4 separate regions of the Homo sapiens genome follow, and regions 2, 3 and 4 are each linked to region 1. The links are contacts of gene promoters, found by promoter capture Hi-C in blood cells and fetal thymus (Javierre and others, 2016). All regions are on one chromosome and are shown on one strand. Each heading gives the region's core, a stretch centred on a gene start or on the middle of the fragment in contact. The rest is flanking DNA. Distances are from core to core; before and after follow the strand shown. Region 1 holds the start of FAR2 (fatty acyl-CoA reductase 2). Region 2 overlaps ERGIC2 (ERGIC and golgi 2). Region 3 overlaps ERGIC2 (ERGIC and golgi 2). Region 4 overlaps FAR2 (fatty acyl-CoA reductase 2).

Region 1 (3,443 bases), core at 690-3,189:
GGTCTTCTAGCCTCCAGAATTATGAAATAATACATTTCTATAGTTTAATCCACCCAGTTTATGTGCATCCTTATGACAGCCTTAGCAAACTAATACATTCTACATATATGAATAGCGTTTTAAATGGTGATAATCAAATTGTGGTTTTGTAATCTATAATTAATGTTGTATTTTATCTATGAACATCCCACTGAAAGTATGCTTTTAATTTCCTACTTTATAAACAACTCGGTAATAAATATGCAACTATGTACATGCGGCATTTCTCTTTTATGGATTATCTCCTTTGAATACATTGTAAGACATGGGAATCTAGGTCCAGAACAAGAAAAAATTTCGTTACTGAACACCTTGGGAATGTGTTGCTAAATTGCTTTCCAACAAAAGCGTGATTACAATTTACCTTCCATCTGCTATCTGTTAAGTGATTTCTATACGTTTTCACCAGCATTTGACATTATCATTTGAAGTGCTGTCACACACATTTTGAAGATACATTCAAATTTATTCTTGAGGAGGGGAGGGGTAACGAAAAATACTATAAATTTGGTTGTAACTTTTTTTCTGTCTCTTGCATTCAGGCGGTCACCAGAGGAAATTAGTCAGTGCCTTTAGGCTACACTTAGCTTAACACATTTCATTAAAGAGCCCAGTAGTAGAGAATTCAAGATGGGTGTTATTATTTTAATTTCATGAAATCACTCCTTAATTCTAACTTTCAAAAGTCAAATTTTATTTCTTTAATTGCATGTGGATTGTTATAATGAGGAGAATCAGAACAGCTTATAGGACAATATTTCTTTTCTATTTTTCTTAACACACCATATTTATTTGGAAATTTACCTCCTACATTGTCCAGGGAATTAGGATGGGCGTTGGCCGTTTTTCAGCACTTCCTGGTTGAGGCCAAGGGCTCCACTCACGTGCCTGTCCATCCCTCTACAAGGCTTCCCTGGCAGCTTGTTTTTCCGTTTAAAATTTAACAATGACCAAATCCCAAAAAAGCTACCAGGCTAAGAAATGAAACATCTTTTTTTCTTTTAAGTCCGGAGAAGTGCTGCTGAGCACAGCTGGCTCACTGCTGTTTCTGCGGCCCCCATCTCTGATCCTTTCTAGTCTCCTACCCACCCCCACCCCACCATAGGCAGGCAGAGCCGGATTTCTGCCCTTCAAACCCCGAGTGTGAGGAAGCCTCACCTGAAGTCCTCGCATCACCCTCCACCCTCACGCCCTTGGGTTTTAAAAAGCCACTGCGTTCGTGGGTCACTGCAGGGCGCCTCCGCAATGTCTTTAGCAGATACAAGAGCATCCCTCCCACGGGATGTGCAGTGTAGTCAAGCTGAGTAAACTGGGATTTTTGGCTGCCTTTTCTGCTAGGGTGGGTGGGGAAAGGTATGTCCCCCAAGCGTTCAGTTCAGACTAGAACCTTTGAATCTCTCTCCTGTCTCGGTCTCTCCCTCCACCCCCCTACCCCGCCACCTTTCACGGTGTGGGAGTTCTCCTTTCCCACACCAGAGAGGGGCGCCTTTCTAGCTTCCTTGTCCCCTCGCCCACTGATTAAAAAATGGAGAAAAAAACCAACCCCAAAACCCAAAACAAAACAAAACAAAAGCCCCAAACAAACAAACAAACCAAACCCACCGAAACCAAAACCAACTCCCCTCCCCCAAACCACACAAATGCGGGAGTCATAGCCAGTGGATCCGCTGGTGCTGAACGAATGGAAGCGCGGGGCGGGCCTGCGCGCGCGGCCGCCCTGCCCACGATGCTGTCGCCCCCGCGACCTGTAGGGCCTTCGCTGGCCCCTCACCCTCCTCCCGCCCCGGGCTGAGGCTGCCGCCGGTTTCGCGCCCAGTGCCGAGGCAGCGGCGGAGCCGGGGAAGGTCGGAGGGAGGGTGGTTTCCTCCCGCCCCACACCCAGTCTCCGAGCCGGATATATAGAGTGTCACGTTTGGGAGCCGAAAGACTGGAGCCGTTTCCTTGTGGCTGGAGCGCTTCCCGTAGCCTCGGGGAAGGAGCAGGATTTAGAGGACCACTAGTTGGACCCCATCCTCGTGCTGGAGGAACAGGTATTCCAGGGTCCCCAGCCCTGGCGCTCGCAGAGCCCACGCGCTCCAAAAGCAGAGACCGGACTGGGGGTGGCCCAGGAGGGAGGGCTCGGCTGGGTTCGCAGGGCGGGGCGGTTCCCGGCGGGACCTCGAGGAGGGTGGGTGTGAGGCCGGGTGGGAGGAGAGAAGCATTTGCGGAGGCTCTGCCCCCTGAAGCTGCCCCCGGCTGCACCCCAATCGTCACCGGCCGTTTACGCGCGGTTGGCGTCGGCGGAGCCCGCCAAGGTGGGGCGCGCGGGGGTTGCAAAGGGCAGAAAGCCGGGAAGGACCCAGCAAGGTTAATGTGGGGGGCCGCGCCTTGGGGACTGGGGACCCGGGAAGAGAGGCGCGGGGCCGAGTCCCACCCAGGCCTCCTGGGCCCTTGGGGCTATTCCTGGAGAGAGCGCGAAAATGCCGGGGCCACGTGTGAAACGGCAGCGGTCCTAGGTCCCCTCCCGGTGCCTGGGACCGCCAGGGCGCCCAGTCCTGGTCCCCGGAGCAGGTCCTCGCCAGCCCCCAGCCCCACCCCAGGCTGCGCACGTCCCTACCCTCCCACCTGGGCCTCGCCGGGGTCGTGGCTGACGCGCGCTGGGGCGACTGGTGAGGCCAGGGCGGGCTTTGCCCCTGTAGGAAGTTTTAGACATCTTCCTGCGGCCTGGGCATCCTGGGGGTGTGCAGGGGAGCAGGTGCCAGCAGACTCCCAACTGGAGTAGATGGCTTGCAGGAAGGCTGCTCAACACTCCTAGCAAGTAGAATTACCCGCGGGGCAGTCTCAGTCTATTAAAACAATTCATGCCCAATCGTATCCTACAAACCAGAGGAAGGCGTCTCACCTGCCAGCGGTGGCACCATTTCTTCCACGGTTGAGTTATGTGGTGTGAGCAACCAAGGTTATCGCTGGATCTGCAAGAGTTTGGCCACTCGTTGAATCACGTAAAGTGCCCCCATTATGTGATGAGCAAGGACAGAGTAGGGTCAGAAAAGTGACCAGGGAATTCAGGTAGATCGTGCTTTTCTGTTTGCTAGGTTGAGAGAAATTTGACACTGGGCAAATGGAAATTTGAGAATTACCCCGTGGTTTCAATTACCCATCTCTGTATATTCCCATTTATAAGAGCTGGAGATTTGACTGACAGGTGTAGTTAGTCCAAAATTTAGAAAGGGGGGCAAGGGACTAAATAAAAACTTAAGGCAGCCACCTAAACTGCAAGAGCAGGCATTTCCGCAGAAGGGATATTTGTGTGTGAGACTTCTAGGAGATGGGCATGAGGTTTTTACCAGGCCGACGCGTGTGTCAATATTTCATCGGTAGTATTTCTCAGGATCCACGTCTTTACAGTACTCTTTTCCTAATTC
Region 2 (3,443 bases), core at 694-3,193, 220 kb after region 1:
TTGTATTATTAAATAATACCACAGTAAAACTTTAAAATATTATAAAGGAAAAATAAAGTACAACCAGTGATTTTTATTTTTGCTTGGCAATTGTTTGAACCATAACCTACATGTGGATTCAGCAAGTTGAAGGTGTACTTACATTGACACTTCATGGCAACAGTAATATCTATATTAATTCTTAATTTGCTGAAAGACAAAATATTAAACATTAGTACCTACCAATTAATTAGCAAAACATGAGAAATATAAATCAACTGACCTATTAAAAACTTGGATTTCAAGCAGAATAAATTATGTCGATTAGAACTTGAATTGCATTTCTCATGGCCAAAACAAAGGCTCTTTAAATTACAAGTTCTATTTTGCCCTTATTCCAAAAGCCTTTCTGACTTCACAGGTTTTTGAACACAGTATCCTTTAATAATGGCAACTCTATAATCAATAACTCTAAGCAACTCAGAAAAAGTCTTAACCTCTTAATCTCTATTTACATAAACTTTTGATAGAATGTTCTTTTAAGAATGTAAAACTCTCAAAATCAAGAATTAGGAATTGTCTTTCTTCTCTGTTTATCAAACACCATATATTAAGCATGATGCTAGATGTTCTACAAATATTATCTCCTTTATTCTATATCATGGAGCTATAAATGGATGGCTTCACAGATTTTCAAGTAAACCACTGGTGTTCACGGTAGTGTAAATACCTGGCTTAAGATCACATCACCATTAAAGTGGCATACTGGAAACTAGGTCTATGTAACTCAGGATAAATGCAACCAAACTACCAAAAGTAAATCACCTGATGCTTAAAATTTTTCATGGCCTTTCATTTTCAAATGATTAGATCAAAGCAATTTTCGAATACCAGAATGAAGCATTGCGAATAATAGACTGGCTATGATCAAATTCAGTCCTGTGCTTTCTATGATAACTTTTTTCTGTGTAATAATTTTCATCTGATTTAAAATAGGAATTACAGATTTTTAGACCTTCATGAAGTCTTAAAGTCATCTAGAGTTCAAACTGTGTTCCAAATAACCCAGGAGTTTAGGCTCAGGAGATAGGAACCAGGAGTAGGCCAAGTAGACAAACTTCTGCATATCCTCACCATGCTTATGTGGCGAACTATGTAATACATAAGACTTCATTTGGAAAAAAATGAAGTATTGCATTGGTGCTGAAAACAACAACAAATTCTTTGAAAACCAATACTATCCTGAATAGTACATTAGAGATGAAGAAACTGAAGTCCAAAAGAAGTCAGTGGTGTGACCTGCCCAAGGTTACACAGCAATTTACAAATGTTGACTAATTTAATTCTCATAAACCTCTTGAGGAAGATACTATAATTGCTGTCTGTACTTTACAAAAAAGGAAACTGAAGCATATACAGGTGCAGATTTAGTAAATTCCCTAAAATTATGTAAATGGCAAACCTGGATTGTAATTGAAAACTAAATGTGTCTTCCTATTTGGTGCAATCTTAATATTATAAACCTATTATCTTCATTCCATTGAAGAAATCCAAATAATACAAACGAATAGATGTAAAGTGTATAATTAAGGTACTATATTTTCAAAAGTTTAAAAGTAATCTTATTTACATAAAGATTTAGCTTAGGTATAATTTATAGACATCAAGTCATAAGGGTATACAATGTATCCTTAGACAACTTATTTTCCAGCTCACACAGATCAGTGAGGTATTTCAACCAGTTTCAAATATTAAACAATTTCCACAATATACATATCTAAGGAAAAATATTCCCCTAACTTTTTGAAACAAAGCATGCTAAATCAAAGAACCTCAGTTTTAGAATTCAACCACTATTTAAATGATTCTAAAAGGTTTCACTTAATGCATGCAATTAATGAGAATTTTTCAGGACTATTTCTTCAGAACTAAAACAAACCAAATCTAGAAGGTTAGACTTTTTCTTTTTTAAAAGGTATGCTCTTTTTAAAACAATTTGAATCTAAAGGTATTCCAAGAAGAAAAAAAATGATTACCTAGAAAAATCCTTGTCTACTTCGTATTCATACTTCATCCATGTATCTTGATATACTGAGAATTCCATTATGGTTAATAAAGCCATAGTTGTAAATGCTATTAGAGAAACTGGGAAATCCAACAACAAAAGAAAAACAGAATTAAAACAATAAAAAAAGCAAAGAATAGGAAACTAATTTAAGTGAGATTAAATTTTCAAAAGAAAAAGCCTAATAATGTAACTTCCATTTGAATGCATACTATAGAAGGTTTTTATTCAAAATGTTTATTATGCATTTTTTCTAATACAGCTCAAAAGTTAAGGTTTAATATATACAAATATGAACATAAACACTTGCATTACTAAGAAAGCATTTTATTTCTCCAATTTTAAGGGCATCTCTCACTAAGTAGAGTTGACAAAATTTGTATTTCTTATATAAAACAGTGTCACAGATAGGATAAATGATGAAAGTAAGCATGCCTTATAGCACAAATTTGAAAACAGTTGCTTCATTATTAAAAATGCATCCATGTCTATAAATATAATTTGTATATAAATGTATATAAATTGGGCTATAAGCCCAATTTAAAACAAACAAAAAGGTAGCCTAATTTCTTAGATCCTGAGAAACCACAATAATCTGTGTGCCAGAAACTCAAATAACATCTCTAAATAGCTAACAAAACTCTCCTCTACTTGGCAATCTCCTAAATATATCACCTCATTCACAGAACTGAGTAAAAGATCTGACAAAAAGAAAATCTATTATATACTAAAGCAAAATACTTAAAATAGATTTTGCAAGAACTTGCACTATTTTCATTAACAAAACTTAATCACAAGTGGATCAGAAATAGTAAGCAACTTATTACCCATTTTACCAAATAAAATGTCAACCTTAAGTGAAATACATTATTTTACTACCTTTTCATAGGGAAAGAAATTATACTGAATATTGTTATAGTCACACATTTTTCTTATATATTTCATTATTTATTTTACTTAACTGATACTTTTATCTGTACCAGGCACTGGGTCTAAGCATTTTATGAAAATATTAATAGTATAGTAACCCCTAGGAGGTAAATACTAGTATGATCCCTATTTCATGGAAGAAACTAAGACAGATAGATTTGAATAACTTCCTCAAGGTCACATATTTAGGAAAGGGCAGCAAAGCAGAAACATTGGTTTAATGTATTAATGTTTTAATAAACACTGCCAAAGGCACAGATGGCACTGTGTTGGAGGCTATAGAGAATATTAATAAGAATTACAGCCAACAGAGTGGCATGAAGACAGACAAGTTACGAAGTTACGGCAGAATTCATTGATAAATTCTTCCTCATGGCTACATTTCTATATGTTGTTGACTGGATCACGCAGAAGTTGTACTTACTACAGAACTTTTAATGTTAACTGATACTCACCTGTACCTCCACTG
Region 3 (3,443 bases), core at 668-3,167, 200 kb after region 1:
ATCATTGCTTTTTTATAGGTTGGTAATATTGTGATGAATGCTCAATCTGGCACCATCAACAGATACTGTATTCTTTTTAGCACAATTAAATAGTGTCATTGCTTAATACGCAGGATGTTCTGCAGCCAAATTTGATCAAATAATCCATGGTACACTGTGCTTTAAAAATGCAACATTTGAAGTCCATATTTCTTTTTTTTAACATAGTAATACAATAAATAAATAAAATGTTGCAGGACAGGAATACACACAGCACTTTTAATGCTGTCAAATTATAACTGCATCACTACAATTCATAGTACACCAAAGTACAAAGTAATGAGAGAGTCATATATGGTCTCTGCCATAATTACTCAACTGTGGTACTGTAATACAAAAGCAGCCATATATAAACAAATGAGCATGGCTATATGCCAATAAAACTTTATTTTTGGACACGAATTTAAATTTCATATATTTCTCATGTATTATATTACTCCCCTTCTGATTTATTTTCAAATATTTAAAAATGTAAAAACCATGTCTGGGCAAGGTGGCTCACACCTGTAATCCTAGCACTTTGGGAGGCCAAGGTGAGTGGATCACCTGAGGTCAGGAGTTCGAGACCAGCCTGGCCAACATGGTGAAACCCTGTCTCTACTAAAAATACAAAAATTAGCCGGGCGTGGTGGTGGGCTACCTGTAATCCCAGCTACTCAGGAGGCTGAGGCAGGAGAATCACTTGAACCTGGGAGGCAGAGATTGCAGTGAGCCCAGATCACGTCACTGTACTCCAGCATGAGCAACAGAGCGAGACTCTGTCTCAAAAAAATAAACAAACAAATAAATAAACAAAATTTAAAAGCCCTTCTTAGCTCATGAACCATACAAAAACAGGTAGTAGGCTGGATTTGGTATATAAACTGTAGTTTGCCTACCACTGCAGTAAACCTTTGTTCTGTTATACACTGTTATCTTTCAAATTTAACCTGTTCTTTTAGCACCTTTACACTTCTACAAATAAGTACTATCCTTCCCTGTTCCTGGTTAAAAAAAATTAAAAAATCACCTTGAAGATCTCCTTTATCACAATCCTGCTTTACCCAGTTACTAATTCTAGCAATTAACTAAAAAACTGAAAATAGAAACTCTCCATAAAGGAGCCTTCTTTCTTTATAACCAATTAACTGTCTGTTACCATTGTCAAGTTTCAGAATATGCCCTAGTAGGTCTAAACATTGTTTAATTTGTTCTATGTGTTACCTAGCAAAACACCAGGCACTTTAAAAAAGGCAATACAATGATTAGGGAAATGTATTAACTGACATTCAACATAAAGTATACTAAAACCTTGCTCAATAAAGCATTTCCTGATGCACTGGAATGATTGGTAGTTTGGTCTCGTAAATTCTTCTGTGTTCACAGTCAAGTGTATTACCTCAAGCTTACTACTAAAAAGAAAGTCTACTGTCATAAATTATTACTAGCTCCAATCATATTGTCAGTCTAACAGTGTTCCTACTATTATTTTCAAACAAACAACAAAGTTTTTCTGAATAACCAAATTACAATACTACACGTTGAATATCCCTTATCCAAAATGCTTGGGATCAGAAGTTTCAAATTTTAGATTTTAGAATATGTACATTTTATTTGCCAGGGAGGCCTCCCTAACCTGAAATCTGAAACACTCTTAAGCATTTCCTTTGAGCATCGTGTTGACAATGCTCAAATTTGGAGTATTTTGAATGCTCCAAATTTGGAGCATTTTGAATTTCAGATTTTCAGATAAGGGATGCTCAACCTATACATTTTACTTCAATGATCTCTCTCACCACCCAGGATTTTACTCTGAGAGGAACAGAGAGCTGTTTTAAATAATATTTCCTTCTTTTTTTTTTTGTTAACAGGTGTATTCATTTTATGAAGTAACAGCATAAGTGAGCATCTTCTTCAAAAAATTAAATTTAAAAATCAAATTAAATCACCCTAGTACAGATGACTGTAGTTATCTGACACTTGTTAAAACTCTGCATAGGGAGGATGGATATTCAGAATTTACCTGTTTCTTTTCTGGGATATTTTCTACCCTATCAGACAAGAATCTAGCCTGAATGACTTTCAGTGGAGGAAAAGTTGTTCTGAAAATTGGTGGGGGGTGAAGAGAGGCATTTTGAGTTGTCAGAATTATTGGGAAGGGGTTGCTATTGGGATTTACTGGACAACAGCCACAGAAACAAGGCATCCTGCAATGAAATTGACAGTCTCACACAAAAAAGAATCATTCCAGGATTTGCCTGACTTTCAAATGTTCTAAGAGATACTCATGTACATGAAAAGCCTATTATAATAATCTGAGTCTAGAACTGAACCCCATTTAGCTATATAAAGTTGTAGTTTTAATATACACTAAATTTCCCAGAAAACTAAGGGAAGCTTATATTCTGTTTTGTTTAATATTACAAAGAGGTATTCCTATTTCTGAATATCATCTCATCAACGGAAATGTCACTCATGATATCTGAGTAGCCAATACATCTGTTTCAGTCTGCATTTGTAGCAATTATACACTTAAAAATTCTACATATAAGTGGCAAGCATCTGCCTACTTCATTATGTCTTCTAGTGTATTCACGCTCAAGCATATTGAAATACATATTGTGTTACAAATTATGTTCCTTTTATTACTCTTTTAAATTACAGTTGAGACTGACATTGTGTCTGAGAGGTAATATGAGACCTTCAAAAAGATCAATATTGAACTTGACAAATGTAACACTAAAAATTAGGAGTGGGTTTACAGGATATCCCTGAGATGACAAGATATGAACCAAATGCTTTTCTATTTGGCCTCTCTGATAGTGTGAGTTACCACCTGGGAAGGAAAGTGAAATTGTGAAAAGACCAAAAACAAATTTTAAAAAGGGACATAATATAGAGTCTGATTATAATATTTGTCAAAATTTCCCTCTTTGAGTTGGTTGTGGACTAGAATATTGTTTGTATCCAAAGGTGCAATAAAATCTGCTAAATTTCTTTAAGCTAAGATTTCAAGACATTCCAAGGTTCCCAGCAACAGGTTGGGTTGGAGATGGGTAATGGTAACAAAACAACAAAACATAAATTTCAAGAGATAATGAGGAAAAAAACAAATGTTTGATCTGAGTATTGTAAATACTGAAATACTTTTTCATAGAAATCTAATGTTATCTCTATATGTATTTTATAAACTTCCAGCCATGCTCTTTCCTGCTGTATGCCCTTCCCTCCTTTATATATTAAATTCCTCCTCTTCTCCTAGTGTTCAAAGGTCTTCCTCAATAAAGTCTCCACTGACTTGCAGCGTACATTTAATACCTTGTTAAATAGTCTCTTATCAGCCATACTTCTCCTTTACAGGCTCAATACAACTATAATTAAATAATTATTAATGTATTCACTGCTTAAGTGTGGATTTTCTTATA
Region 4 (3,443 bases), core at 254-2,753, 180 kb after region 1:
TACTTATTGAAAGAGGATATGGCTGGGATCCCAAAAGCAAAGCAACGCTTAAAAAGGTAAGTATAATCAGTCAGTTAATATTTATTGAGCACCTACTGTGCATCGACTTTATACCAGACATAACATTTGTGCAGAGGAGAATGAACATTTCTTGAGCATTTACTACATTACAGGTCCTGCACTCCATACTCTACCCTGTAACACAGTTTCATTTAGACTTCACCACACCTCTATGAGGCAAGTATTACTTTTGTTACCCCATTTTTATGAGGCAGATATCTAGATTTAAACACAGCAAATAACTTGCCCATGGTAATTGCATAGTAAGTCTAAGAGCCAGATTTGAACCCAAATTTGTTTCTTCTACCACACTCTGTCATAATGGGATATAAATACCCAACAGGCAGGAGACCTGATTATGCTATTTAACCTAGAAAAAAGTCACTCCTCAATTTTTTCAACTTTCTTAAATTTCTTTCAGTCGTAATCCCTGAGGGACAAGGAATTCTAGCACTCTGGTATAATCCTGGTAGAAGCAGAGGATCTGTAGTGCAGAGATGATAAGGATAAAAAAGTAGCTTGCAAAACAGGAAGGAGGAACCTTGAATAGCAAGCCAAGAACTTTAGAATTTACCTTCTAATGAACAAGAACCAGTGAAGATTTATGATGTGGTAACATGACCAAAGTATATTTACAAGATTATGCTAGTCATGCTTGTAAATAGTTTCAAGTGGAGAGAGGTATAAGAGAAATTAGGGAAATATGGTAGAAATCTGACTATTCAGCAAGAATGCTGTGGAAATGAAAGACGCAGAAACCAATTGGCCAAGTTATATCAAATACTCTGAGCACTTCATAAATACTTGCCAGTCATATCCAGGAAAACACATATTTATCTTCAGATAATGTGGTTGGGTATCTGGTAGTTTTAACTTTGGTTATGTCTGTCTGTTCCCTAGGCTCCGAAATATTCACTACCTCTTTAATACTGCCCTCTTCCTTATCGCCTGGCGCCTTCTCATTGCAAGATCTCAGATGGCTCGGAATGTCTGGTTCTTCATTGTAAGCTTCTGTTATAAATTCCTCTCCTACTTTAGAGCATCCAGCACGCTCAAAGTTTAAGAGCATTTAGCCATCGCTTTTTATCTGGAACCTCTCAGATACCTCTAAAACAGCAAACTGTGATTCTCAAGATTAGAAAGTAACAAGGAATATGCCCAAACTGTCAAATGTCACCTGTTATGTATTCGTCCCTATTCCTTAACTATGTATTTTTATTTCAGTGAGAGAAGGAAAGTTGTAAACTAGCCCATAGTCACCTATATTTTAGGGAAAAAAATCCAAATTGTTTCCTAACATTCTATTTTATGCCCTTGCGTATTAAACGTGAAAGTACTCCCACTTTTCTATATTTAGTTTTTCTTTTCTCTCTGAGATGATTCATTTAAACTCAGTAAATATGGAAAGATGCATGGCAGAAGCTGAAATGAGCTCAAGCAGTACTAACCTTGGAACCATTCTGGGTACCCAAAAGAAAAATTTAAAATCAAGATGAGTAAAAGGAGAATGGTCTCAATATCCTCAAAAATGCAGTAAGAGAAGTAATTCCCCACTGAAAATGTCTCTCTTTCTTTCTATGTTATACCCTGGAGTCCTGGTTGAGGGGTGGGGGAATCAGAAAAGTAGGTTTACATTTAACATTTTTCTTAACTACATTCACTTCTTAAAAAGGAACAAGAAGTGTAAATAAGTATGTATAGAGTGAGGGATTAAGCATATTTGCATTGGGGACTCGTGTATTATGCTTTTAAGTCAAAATTAATATTCTCAAATTCGAATTTGATAGCTATTATTTCTAAATCTTTTTAATCCTCAATTTTCCTGGTAACCTTCTTTCAAGAGTCTCCTTCTTCTAAAAGTTGCCAAACCCTTTATATTTAAGCTTTTTCCACTCAGGACTCAATTAGAGTGGTCAACAGGGAGAGGGATGGTCCCATTTGATCTTTGCCACTGAGCAAAACAAAACTTCAAATGAACTTTTAAACTGTAGCTTTAGTCTTCTGGTATAAAGTGGGGAAGATTACACTTATGTGATCACCAAAGGATTTACTAGTATCTTGGTCATTCCAATTGCACAATGTTAACTGTACAACACACAGCAGAAAAGTGAATAGACTTCACTAAGGGATTCTAAGTTTAGAAAATAGGTTTTGTTTTCTTAAAAAATTTTGTGTATAATACAAACTAATGAAAACTATACATATTCTCCAATTCCTATAGTAATAATAATGTAACTGTTACACCAACTTTCCTCATATTTGAGAGATGAGTACATGTTGGATTGCAGCATTTCTTCATGTTAAAAACATGGAATATTATTCAAATATAGTACTTGGGGCCTAAACAACTAAAATTAGTCACCGCATAACTAGTTGAAAATGGCATAGGCATAAAATGTTAATAAAGAATGGCAGTTATATTTATGCTCACTTCCTGGAGTAATTGGGTAATATTCAGAAAGGCACATCGTGGTAGTTTAAGTGTACAAGGCCTTAGGGCAGTATCTAGCCCAGTATTATTCCAGATTCTCCTGAGCTCTATATAAAGGGCATTTTGGAGGAACTCTTCTGGGCAATATCTTTCCCAATCTCATCTAAATTCTGGGAAATATTTTCCATAGCAGACAACCCAGCTCTGAAACTAAGCACCTGGTGATCTTTAGTTTGAGATGTCTATATGGTACTTTTGAGTTATATCAATTAAGATACAAGCTATAGACATGATAAAAATATGAAATCAAGATATAGCTCAGTGGGATTGGATTAAGACATAATAATAGTTCTAAGAATTCACTTTTGATTGTATGTTTTACCAATTCAATAATTCCACTAATCAAGTATTCACATTTTGACTTTTGATTAAATAAAAATTTGAATTAAAATTATTCCCCTCTTCTAGTGTTGTCTTTAACCGTTGACTACCGCAGCACTTCTCCCTCCTTTACACCCCCTGCACCCCACCCCCCAAGCCCCCAGAAAAAGGAAATAACTTCCAAAGAACTCTTTCCACCAAATCACATCACAGGAATAACTATCAGATGAATATAAATTAACCTTTAGCTACATAATGCTTCACTTTTTCTAACACCATTAATACGGCTATTTTGACATGAGTAGTCTTCTATTTGTGGCATCAGATAAATGACACAAAGTTCTCTTGTGATGATTAGGCAGTAAAAACAGGTATCTGTATGAAGGGAAATCTCTAGCATATAACTATTTCACATCAAGACCAATTAGCAATTACTTGAATGCCTAATATAAACAAAGCAATGGGAAAGAACCTTCTACTTAGGGGAAAAGAAGATGGAAAGTACAAAGAAAAGGTACCTATGTTTCAAAAGTTTTGGCAATCCCTATATTCTCTACCCACAAGATACCTG

What was found. The method cuts DNA at HindIII sites, captures the fragments that hold promoters and counts their contacts. A CHiCAGO score of 5 or more calls a contact.
Region 2: a contact is called between a fragment that was not itself captured here and the fragment with the promoter of FAR2 in region 1, in 1 of 17 cell types (neutrophils). The highest score is 10.3, in neutrophils.
Region 3: a fragment that was not itself captured here is called in contact with the fragment with the promoter of FAR2 in region 1 in 1 of 17 cell types (monocytes); the score reaches 5.3 in monocytes.
Region 4: a fragment that was not itself captured here is called in contact with the fragment with the promoter of FAR2 in region 1 in 3 of 17 cell types (neutrophils, M2 macrophages and monocytes); the score reaches 6.4 in neutrophils.

Annotation. Positions count from the first base shown.
Region 1 is chr12:29,147,339-29,150,781 of GRCh38, forward strand. It overlaps FAR2 (fatty acyl-CoA reductase 2), which reads left to right and starts at 1,940. Exons shown (of 12, transcript NM_001271783.2): 1 at 1,940-2,069. RefSeq lists silencers at 1,788-1,847, 2,158-2,307. The HindIII fragment of the contact is 9,301 bases long and covers 1-3,443 here.
Region 2 is chr12:29,368,099-29,371,541 of GRCh38, forward strand. ERGIC2 (ERGIC and golgi 2) reads right to left here. Exons shown (of 14, transcript NM_016570.3): 2 at 3,430-3,443; 3 at 2,016-2,124; 4 at 143-189. Among named protein-coding and RNA genes, the nearest start is that of ERGIC2, 11 kb to the right of the region's middle. The HindIII fragment of the contact is 7,633 bases long and covers 1-3,443 here.
Region 3 is chr12:29,351,860-29,355,302 of GRCh38, forward strand. The region is part of intron 8 of ERGIC2 (ERGIC and golgi 2); the gene reads right to left. Among named protein-coding and RNA genes, the nearest start is that of ERGIC2, 28 kb to the right of the region's middle. The HindIII fragment of the contact is 992 bases long and covers 1,422-2,413 here.
Region 4 is chr12:29,332,672-29,336,114 of GRCh38, forward strand. It overlaps FAR2 (fatty acyl-CoA reductase 2), which reads left to right. Exons shown (of 12, transcript NM_001271783.2): 11 at 1-56; 12 at 961-2,945. The coding sequence ends at 1,123. Among named protein-coding and RNA genes, the nearest start is that of FAR2-AS1, 17 kb to the left of the region's middle. The HindIII fragment of the contact is 875 bases long and covers 1,067-1,941 here.